2 separate regions of the Homo sapiens genome follow, and region 2 is linked to region 1. Evidence: promoter capture Hi-C in human tissues and cell types (Jung and others, 2019). All regions are on one chromosome and are shown on one strand. The core of a region is centred on a gene start or on the middle of the fragment in contact, and the rest is flanking DNA. Distances in the headings are between cores, read along the strand shown. Region 1 holds the start of SCIMP (SLP adaptor and CSK interacting membrane protein). Region 2 overlaps ZFP3 (ZFP3 zinc finger protein).

Region 1 (4,931 bases), core at 1,786-4,285:
CGGGCGGATCACGAGGTCAGGAGATCAAGACCATCCTGGCTAACACAATGAAACCCTGTCTCTACTTAAAAAATACAAAAAATTAGCCAGGCATGGTGGCAGGCGCCTGTAGTCCCAGCTACTCGGGAGGCTGAGGCAGGAGAATGGCGTGAACCCGGGAGGCGGAGCTTGCAGTGAGCCGAGATTGCGCCACTGCACTCCAGCCTGGGCGACAGAGCGAGACTCCGTCTCAAAAACAAAAAAAAAAAACTGGTCACCTCAGTGATTGGCTTACTGTGCGATGAGCAGAATGGGCCTCATTTGGTATCAAGAGGAGGAGCTGATAGAAAATGCTCAGGGATGGGCTGGCAAAGACATTTTCAGAGCAGCGCCGTGTTATGTTCTGTGTGCAGTTGTTTGCGCTGATGCGTTACAAGCCCCTCTGGTGGTCCCCCGCTGAGTCTTTGGTAAAGTCTGCTGCATCTGCCAATTCTTTTGTGAGCAGATTTGTTCTAGGGGTGTGGGGGACTAAGAAAGGGGTGGAATATAAACAGTGCAGTGTAAACAGTGCAGTATAAACAGTGCAGTATAAACAGTATAAACAGTGCAAACAGTGCAGTGTAAACAGCGCAGTGTAAACAGTTTTACCCACAGAGGCTGCAGGCCCATTGCTGACCATGGAAAAAGAGGTGGGCTCCTCGGGAGTCCACAGAAGTCCTGGGGAGGGCTTTGGACTTCGGCAGGCCTGGAATGAGGGTTCGAACTAATCTCAGTCTAGATCTCGAGGGTCTGAGAGGCTGTAGAGAACATTTAGGCCGGTTGGCATGAGCAGTTCTTGCCCCAGTTCACCTCTAATTCCCCGACTGTTGCTGTTCATGCTAAGTGAGGCCTTGTTCCCACTCGTTCTTCTTCTTTTTTTTTTTTTGAGATGGCGTCTTGCTCTGTCACCCAGGCTAGACTCCACTGGTGCAATCTCAGCTCACTGCAACCTCTACTTCCTGGTTCAAGCTATTCTCCTGTGTCAGCCTCCTGAGTAGCTGGGATTACCGACACGCACCACCATACCCGGCTAATTTTTGTGTATTTTTAGTAGAGATGGGGTTTTGCCATGTTGGCCTGGCTGGTCTCAAACTCCTGACCTCAAGTGATCCACCTGCCTCGGCCTCCCAAAGTGCTGGGATTACAGGCGTGAGCCACTGAGCCTCGCTCCACTTGTCCTTCTCACTGATGTCAGCACCAGAAATGGCCATGTGGATAGTCACTGGCAACTTAAAACCCAAGTGTGCATGGGGAAGTGCACGGCAGGGTCATTAAAAGGAGTCCAGCCTCTCTTCTTCCCTTCTCTATACTTTCACTTCTGGAAAAGACCGGAAACCTTGCCTCATTCCTCTTTCTCCCATGGCCCCATCCCCACCCCGCTTCAGCCCATCAGCCTCCAAATGTAGTCCAAGTCCTCATCTCTGTACCTGGACCATTGCATTTTCGCTGGCCCCTAGCCCCCACTGGGCTCCCCACTGGCTGCCAAATACCAGTGTGACCCTGTCCCTTCCTTGCTTTAAGCCTCTCAGTAGTTTGTTTGTTTGTTTTTGAGATGGAGTCTTGCTCTGTCACCAGGCTGGAGTGCAGTGACATAATCTTGGCTCACTGCAACCTCCACCTCCCGGGCTCAAACGATTCTCCTGCCTCAGCTTCCCGAGTAGCTGGGGCTATAGGCGCCCACCACCATGCCCAGCTAATTTTTGTATTTGTAGTAGAGACAGGGTTTCACCATGTTGGCCAGGCTGGTCTTGATCTCTTGACCTTGTGATCTGCCCACCTTGGCCTCCCAAAGTGCTGGGATTAGAGGCGTGAGCCACCATGCCCCGCCTGCCTCTCAGTAGTTATTTACCACTGAAGCAGAGTGAAGCCTGTGCTCCACATTGCTTCATGGCCAAGACCTCAGGGACAAGTGGACACACCAGGCAGTGGGAGTGGATATGGCAAAGCCAAACCCAGATCTCTTCTCAAAATAATTTTCCAGAGGGCAAAAGCAGATGGCTACACCGAGAACTCACGCCAGCCCAACACACTTTGATCTCGAGGCCTCTGGAAGGGAAGGTGCCTAATGAACTACTGAAAGCCAGAGATGCAATGACAAAGGTACCAAGACTGGAGGTGATCCAGGTCTTTCATCCAAGAGCCCCAAGACGTAGCCTAAATTCATGCTACGGTAATCCCAGCACTTTGGGAGGCCGAGGCGGGCGGATCACCTGAGGTCAGGAGTTCGAGAGCAGCCTGGCCAACATGGTGAAACTCCGTCTCTACTAAAAATACAGAAATTAGCCAGGTGTGGTGGCGGGTGCCTGTAATCCCAGCTACTCAGGAGGCTGAGGCAGGAGAATCGCTTGAACCCGGGAGGCGGTGGTTGCAGTGAGCCGAGATCACGTCACTGCACTCCAGCCTGGGCGACAAGAGCGAAACTCCATCTCAAAATAAAATAAAAATAAATAAATTGACACAGTCAGTGCCTCGCTCCCACCCCCACCTCCAGCATAGCACCATGACAGTCTTCTCACATAACAAGTCCCAAAACACACCATCGGCATCCAGAAAGTGAGAGTAACTCGTTACAGTTGAGACCTCTCACTCCCGGTCATTATCTCATTTCAATCCAAGAGGTAGACTTCTTCATCGCCCCTGACATACACATGAGGAAAAGGCCCAGAGAGGTGAAGTGATGCCTCAGGTCACTCAGCCAGTTACCAGTAGAGCAGATCCTTCAATGCAAGTTTTTCTCCAACCCTACACAGCAGTCGTACCAGGGCCCCAGGCTGCAATCCCCTGGCCCAGTGCTGATCGGTGGCTCCCAGGGACACGCCCTGATGCCAGCGCTGGCAGATGTCTGCTGTGAAGAGAGCAGGAAACTGTCCCTTGGAAAGCTGAGATGCTTACCTGAACTGTGAAAGTATCCATATGTGAGCAGCTAAGGAGACAGCAGTGGCTGGAGTGCTGCAGCTCAGGCACAGCTGGTGAGAGGCATTCCTCACTCACAGGCCTTCACCCACTGCTAGAGACAGTGAGCCCCATCCTGACCACTTCCCCTTTCTAGTCAGCCCACGGGGCAGAGACCCTGGCGTCATCTCTAGGCAACCATCCCTTTTCCAGGGAAGCTCATGACCCACGGCTGTCCAGAAGCCAGAATCTTCTCACTGCCCCGTGTCGCTCCCGCAAGGCCTACCAGAGGACCCTCATGGTGTGGTAGGGGGTCCTGGCAGGGGCCAGGGGCCAGGGTGGAGACTTGGCAGTGGGGGTGGGTTTGGTGTCCCCACAGACGAGTTTGCCGTGAGCATTCCTGGATGTGGCAACCTCAGTCTCAAGAAGAGCGACAGGACGCCAGCTCCCATGCAGAGACAGATCCAGGTAAGAAACCAGCTCATGTGTGACAAACTCACCATCTCACCATGAAGGTGACTCTTGAAAGCTCCTGTGCACCTTGGAACTGCTGAGACATCTTCTGCTTGGAGGAGGCAAGGGACAGGCTTCCTGTTTCTAAAGGCGTGTGAGTGGCGACCTTGAGAAATGTGGCCAGTGGAGCATTTTGACTGAGTTGGGTCCCCTCGTGCAATACTGTGAGACAGAACTCCCAGCGAGGCCCACGGCCTCTGACCATGGGGGTTGGAGTGGGGAAACCAATTAGCCATTTTGTTGAATTGGCTGGTTCTGACTCAAATGAGCAGTCACATTAGTAAAAATAGGCAAACGGATGTGCATTGTATTTGCCCAGAGCGAATGAGTTGTTATCCATTTCAGTAATAATGATAACCAGATATGTCTGATAAATATCTGATAATGTCTGATATATGTCTGGTAAATTTAACAAACACCGGGCTCTGGCTGGGTGCGGTGGCTCACACCTGTAATCCCAGCACTTTGGGAGGCCAAGGCGGGTGGATCACCTGAAGTCAGTAGTTCGAGACCAGCCTGGCCAACATGGTGAAACCCCATCTCTACTAAAAATACAAAAATTAGCTGGGCATTTTGGTGTGAACCGGTAGTCCCAGCTACTCAGGAGGCTGAGGCGGGAGAATTGCTTGGACCCGCGAGGTGGAGGTTGCAGTGAGCCAAGATCACACCATTGCGCTCCAGCCTGGGCAACAGAGCAAGACTCTATCTCAAACAAACAAAACAAAACATCTGGCTCAGAAGATTCCTGATTTGCAGTGTTTACTAATTTCTTTTTTCTTTTTCTTTCTTTCTTTCTTTTTTTTTTTTTTTTTTGAGATGCAGTCTCACTCTGTCGCCAGGCTGGAGTGCAGTGGCTCAATCTCAGCACACTGCAACCTCCGACTCCCAGGTTCAAGCAATTCTCCTGCCTCAGCCTCCCAAGTAGCTGGGACTACAGGTGTGTGCCACCGCATCCGGCTAATCTTTGTATTTTTAGTAGAGACAGGGTTTCACCATGTTGGCCAGGCTGGTCTCGAACTCCTGACCTCAAGTGATCCACCTGCCTCGGCCTCCCAAAGTGCTGGGATTACAGAGTTGAGCCACTGCACCTGGCCAAGGCCTGAACTCTTTCTTCTTAGGCTCATCCAAAGTTTAGCTGCTAAAAAACCTTCCTAAAAGCCAATTTAAAATTTTCTTCTAGGCCGGGCACAGTGGCTCACGCCTGAAATCCCAGCACTTTGGGAGGCCAAGGCAGGCGGATCATGAGGTCAGGCGTTTGAGACCAGCCTGGCCAACATGGTGAAATCCCGTCTCTACTAAAAATACAAAAATTAGCCAGGCATGGTGGCAGGTGCCTGTAGTCCCAGCTACTTGGGAGGCTGAGGCAGAAGAATCGCTTGAACCTGGGAGGCGGAGGTTGCAGTGAGCCGAGATCGAGCCACTGCACTCCAGCCGGGGTGACAGAGCAACACTCCGTCTCAAAAAAAAAAAAAAAAAAAATTCTCTTCTGAGGGGTGAATAAATGCTTC
Region 2 (4,931 bases), core at 1-2,500, 140 kb before region 1:
TCTAACAAAACACAGAGAAGTTCTGTGGGAGAAAAGCCTCATACATGTAAAGAATGTGGGAAAGCCTTTAATCAGAACTCACATCTCATCCAGCATATGAGAGTTCATAGTGGAGAAAAACCCTTTGAATGTAAAGAATGTGGAAAGACATTTGGAACTAATTCAAGCCTTCGACGGCACCTGAGAATTCATGCTGGAGAAAAACCCTTTGCTTGTAATGAATGTGGAAAGGCCTTCATTCAGAGTTCACACCTTATTCACCATCATAGAATTCATACTGGAGAGAGACCCTATAAATGTGAAGAATGTGGTAAAGCCTTCAGTCAAAATTCAGCCCTTATTCTACACCAGAGAATCCATACTGGAGAGAAACCATATGAATGTAATGAATGTGGGAAGACCTTTAGGGTTAGTTCACAGCTTATTCAGCATCAGAGAATTCATACTGAAGAAAGATACCATGAATGCAATGAGTGTGGCAAAGCCTTCAAGCATAGCTCAGGCCTTATTAGACACCAGAAAATTCATACTGGAGAAAAACCATATCTGTGTAATGAATGTGGGAAGGGCTTCGGGCAGAGTTCTGAGCTTATCCGGCATCAGAGAATTCATACAGGGGACAAACCCTATGAATGTAATGAATGTGGGAAAACTTTTGGCCAGAACTCAGAGATTATTAGACATATTAGAATTCATACTGGTGAGAAGCCCTATGTATGTAAGGAATGTGGGAAGGCCTTCAGGGGGAACTCAGAACTTCTTAGACATGAGAGAATTCACACTGGAGAGAAACCCTATGAATGCTTTGAGTGTGGAAAGGCTTTCAGGCGGACCTCTCACCTTATTGTCCACCAGAGAATTCATACTGGAGAGAAACCCCATCAATGTAATGAGTGTGCAAGAACCTTTTGGGATAATTCTGAGCTGCTTCTCCACCAGAAAATTCATATTGGAGAGAAACCTTATGAATGTAGCGAGTGTGAGAAAACATTTAGCCAGCATTCCCAACTTATCATACATCAGAGAATTCACACTGGAGAGAAGCCTTATGAGTGCCAAGAATGTCAGAAGACTTTTAGTCGGAGCTCTCACCTCCTCCGACATCAAAGTGTTCACTGTATGGAGTAATCTGCAAAATAGGAAAGCTTTTAGTGGAAAAGCTAAAGTCCAACTTATTCATTTGTTCATAATATGCAAATATGCACCCCAAGTATTCAAATCCAATGAATGGACAGAACCTCCTCTGTCCTCCCACTGATTTTAAATAGTTGGTTGAAGAAGATGAGGCACTTTTTTTTTTTTTTTTTTAAGCATTGGGGTCTTGCTCTGTTGCCCAGGATGGGATGCAGTGGCACAGTCGTAACTCACTGCTTCCTTGAACTCCTGGGCTCAAACAGTCCTCCTGCCTCAGCCTTCCAAATAGCTAGGACTGCAGGCACTAATGAGGCACTTTTATGAATTATTCATTGAGAGGTTTCAGTGTGCTAAGTTAAATCATAAAAGCTCTTTCAGGCCTTAATTTCCCCTCTGTCCTTCCTTCCCCTTCTCCTCCCCCAGTGGATCACATAACAAACATTAAGGGTCTGTACCAGCCATCTTTCCTAAATTACTCTTCAGCAAAATTGTGGGAACAGGATTCCACCACCTCCTAAGAATGAGAGTTGACTCATTGACTGTTACCCCCTGAAATATTAGAAAGTCATAATTTAGAAGACACACCTCATTCTCCTGTCCACTGTTTAGCATTGGAATAATTTAGTAAGCTGTTATTAGCTTCAAAGTCGTCCAGCCCTGCTATGAAGTTACTTTAGAAGATGGCAGCATTAATGAAGAAGCAGGCTCATTTCACATCTGTCAGGCTTCCTTATTCATCTGAAGAGGCTGCCATGATGGAGGAACTGACAGGCAATTTACAACGGGATTATAAGTGAAGGCCTTAGAATCCAGAGGGGCCGATTAGGCAACACCAGGGGATAAACAATTGAGGTCACACTGCTCGGCATGGGCAGAAGCAGCTCTTCAGGAGCTGTCCACACTTCAGGGGTGCTCAGACTGACTGCTCCTAAGAATTCTGCTGCATATATTTTTAGCCCCATCTCCTGCCACTGCTGACAGATATTGTGACAGTAAGTAGCAGACAGGACTGTGGCTTCACCTCCTCCGGGCACCTGGCTACAGTGATGAGTCAGTTCACCTGATGACAAACCAGGGTCTGGCCTTGCCAAAGCACTTAAGTTCTCATGACCTGGACCGCACTGGAGGCCCTGGCTAAGTCAGGATGTCGTAGCCTCTTCTTGGTTTTGCCCCTTGGCCTTGAAATTCTTTTTTCTTGAATAACTTTAAAAAAATAGAGATAAAGTCTTGCTATGTTGCCCAGGCTGGTCTTGAATGCCTGGGCTCCAGCAATCTTTTTGCCTCAACTTCCCAAAGTATTGAGATTACAGGTGTGAGCTACCATGCCCGGCCTTGAAATTCTTTCTTCGCTATGTCTGCATGTTTTTTGTGTTCTGTATTTATTTCTTCTCCAAGGAAACAGCCTACATTTTCCATGTGTCCATGTTTCTGAGGCCGTGGGTGACAGTGGGAATTGCACTAATGGGGGCCCAACAGGCCTGGGGGCTGGTCTTAGCGCTAGACCTTGAACAAGGCACTTCACCTGCTGGTCTCCAATTTTCTCCTCTGTAAAATGAAAGAGTTGAACTAAGTGATCTCAAAAGTTTCAACCAGCCCGATAATTCCTTAATTCTTTAAAAATTTAACTTTATATATCTTTATTATTCTTTAACCTCATCTTTGTTACACTAATATTAGTCACTAATATTTATTGAGTGTTTACTACCTGACAGGCAGAGTGCCAGTTTACATTTTAATTTTCACATCATTTCTATGATGTGGGTACTCATTTTTTTAAAGCTTTATGAAGGTATAATTTACGTACTATAAAATTCACCTGTTTTAAGTGTTCAGTTGAATGATTTTTAATTTACATAGTGGTGCAACCATCAATGATGTGGGTATTCTTACCCCAATTTAAAAGATAAGAAGGGGCAGTGTTAAGTAATTGACCCATGATTCCACAGCTAGTAAGAGCGACAGCCAAGACTCCAAACCTGGTTGATGCTCTTAACCACTGTGCTATGCCGCAGGTAGGCAGATTCATTACTGCCTTATCTGAAACCCTTTGCACAGTTTCTATTACTGATTTCTATGTAGATTTGAATATAACAAATTTAAATCATGTCCTTGGTAACAGAACTGATCACAGCCAAAAAAAATTCACCAAATGGGTTTATTCTGTACTCCAATATAGGTGTCTTCCCAGGTTTATATCCTTGGCTTGAGAAAAGGGTTGTACAAATAGATGATTGCAGAGTTTCCACATCCTTCCAGATACCTCTGCCTCTAGCAGTCACACTCTTAGTAAGGGAAGTTGTTTGATTTACTTCTTCCCTTAGGTTGATTACAAGTGAAGTGCGCCGTCTTATTCCTTTTTCATTGCTGGAGCACAAATTGAATTGTGCCCAGACCGTATCTTTCTCACATGAAACCTGGATCTCACCTATCCCTTCCATGCCTGATTCCCGTGTTTGCATATTTTATTTCCACATTTACCTCTTGTCAGCCCTGACAGAGAATTTGGCACCCCTTCAAGCTTCTCCTAAACAATCTATGCACACAAACACCCCTGAGCAATATGGACTTCACTGAAGATAGTGTGTAAGCAAAGGAGAAGAGTTCACATTGTGCATCCTATTAGACATTTTGTTCTCAGAAGTACCTTACTGGCCAAACCAATGAAGGTTTTCCTCTTGTCCTCCCCTCTCAAGGCTCAGTCACCTCAACTTCTTTTTGCCTACTAGATATCCAATCCATCACCTCGCCTCCCCTGGCCCTAGCTCAATTACCCTCTTAAACCCATTCCTGCTCAGCAAAACTTCCTCTAGTTCACCATTCATTCATTTGAACATTAGGAGGCAATTTAGTGACCTGTTGTACCTGACCATGTTCTTAAGGGGGAGGTCTCACGTCTCATTCCCAGAAAAGTCTACCATATATAGATACATATTCCCCGCCCCGCCCCAGATTTCTGGTGAATGAAATCACTTGTATCTTATTAGGTACATATACGCAAATCCTTAACCTCAATTCTCTGTCCTCTTCATGTCTTACCCAGATATCTCAGGAAGATTTCTCTTTTCCTTCTGTTTGCCTCCCTCTTCGACTTACTTGGGAGTCAGCATCTGACCACAGTCGTGACTGGTAATGATGATTTGTGCAAATACTATCAAGGAAAGGACATGAATTGTCTTAATTTTAGACCCATTAAAAAACCGCACAGGCCTCAATCTTAAAAGTCCTATCTAAATACCCAGAAATACCCTTCAGAATTTTTGAAGCTATGCCCATGTACAAAATTTTCTTCCTTCCCTAATTTTAATGGTATACTAACACCTTAGGTAAATAAAATATTTCTTTACTATTTTATTGATACAATGCCTTTGTCATGTTTATTCCAAATTGCATTATGTTTCACTATGGATTTAATAAGGACTTTGTTTACCAGTTTCATCCCCACCTTGTAAGTTTCACCTTACCTAAATACCCCCACATGCTTGTTAGCTTCTGGTTTTGCATACAGTGTACATTCTGTGTCCTTGATCTGCTTTGCTTGGTGAGATCCTTCATCTTAAATAACAGGACAAGTGTTATCTATTGTGCGTGTGTTGGTATACACGTTTTTCTTCATGATTAGCAACTTAAAATATTCCGGACCATTTGTATGGCCTTTAACAAAAAATCACCTTATTACTGAAATTTCAGGGTGGCGGCGGGTGCTGCTGATTGTTTACCATTAAATTTTTACAAGTGTTCTGACTCCTGGCGGATGCCAGGTTCTTAATGCTGTTAAGTCATGAATCTTCTTTGAGAAC

What was found. Contacts are between HindIII fragments. The study calls those that stand out against the background at their distance.
Region 2: a fragment that was not itself captured here is called in contact with the fragment with the promoter of SCIMP in region 1 in 1 of the 25 tissues and cell types used here (IMR-90 fibroblasts).

What each region holds. Positions count from the first base shown.
Region 1 is chr17:5,231,825-5,236,755 of GRCh38, forward strand. SCIMP (SLP adaptor and CSK interacting membrane protein) reads right to left here and starts at 3,036. Exons shown (of 5, transcript NM_207103.3): 1 at 2,911-3,036. The coding sequence starts at 2,931. It overlaps ZNF594-DT (ZNF594 divergent transcript), which reads left to right. Exons shown (of 6, transcript NR_152840.1): 6 at 3,290-4,179. RefSeq lists an enhancer at 3,278-3,477. The HindIII fragment of the contact is 19,973 bases long and covers 1-4,931 here.
Region 2 is chr17:5,091,886-5,096,816 of GRCh38, forward strand. ZFP3 (ZFP3 zinc finger protein) reads left to right here. Exons shown (of 2, transcript NM_153018.3): 2 at 1-4,489. The coding sequence ends at 1,128. Among named protein-coding and RNA genes, the nearest start is that of ZFP3, 16 kb to the left of the region's middle. The HindIII fragment of the contact is 4,063 bases long and covers 1-3,282 here.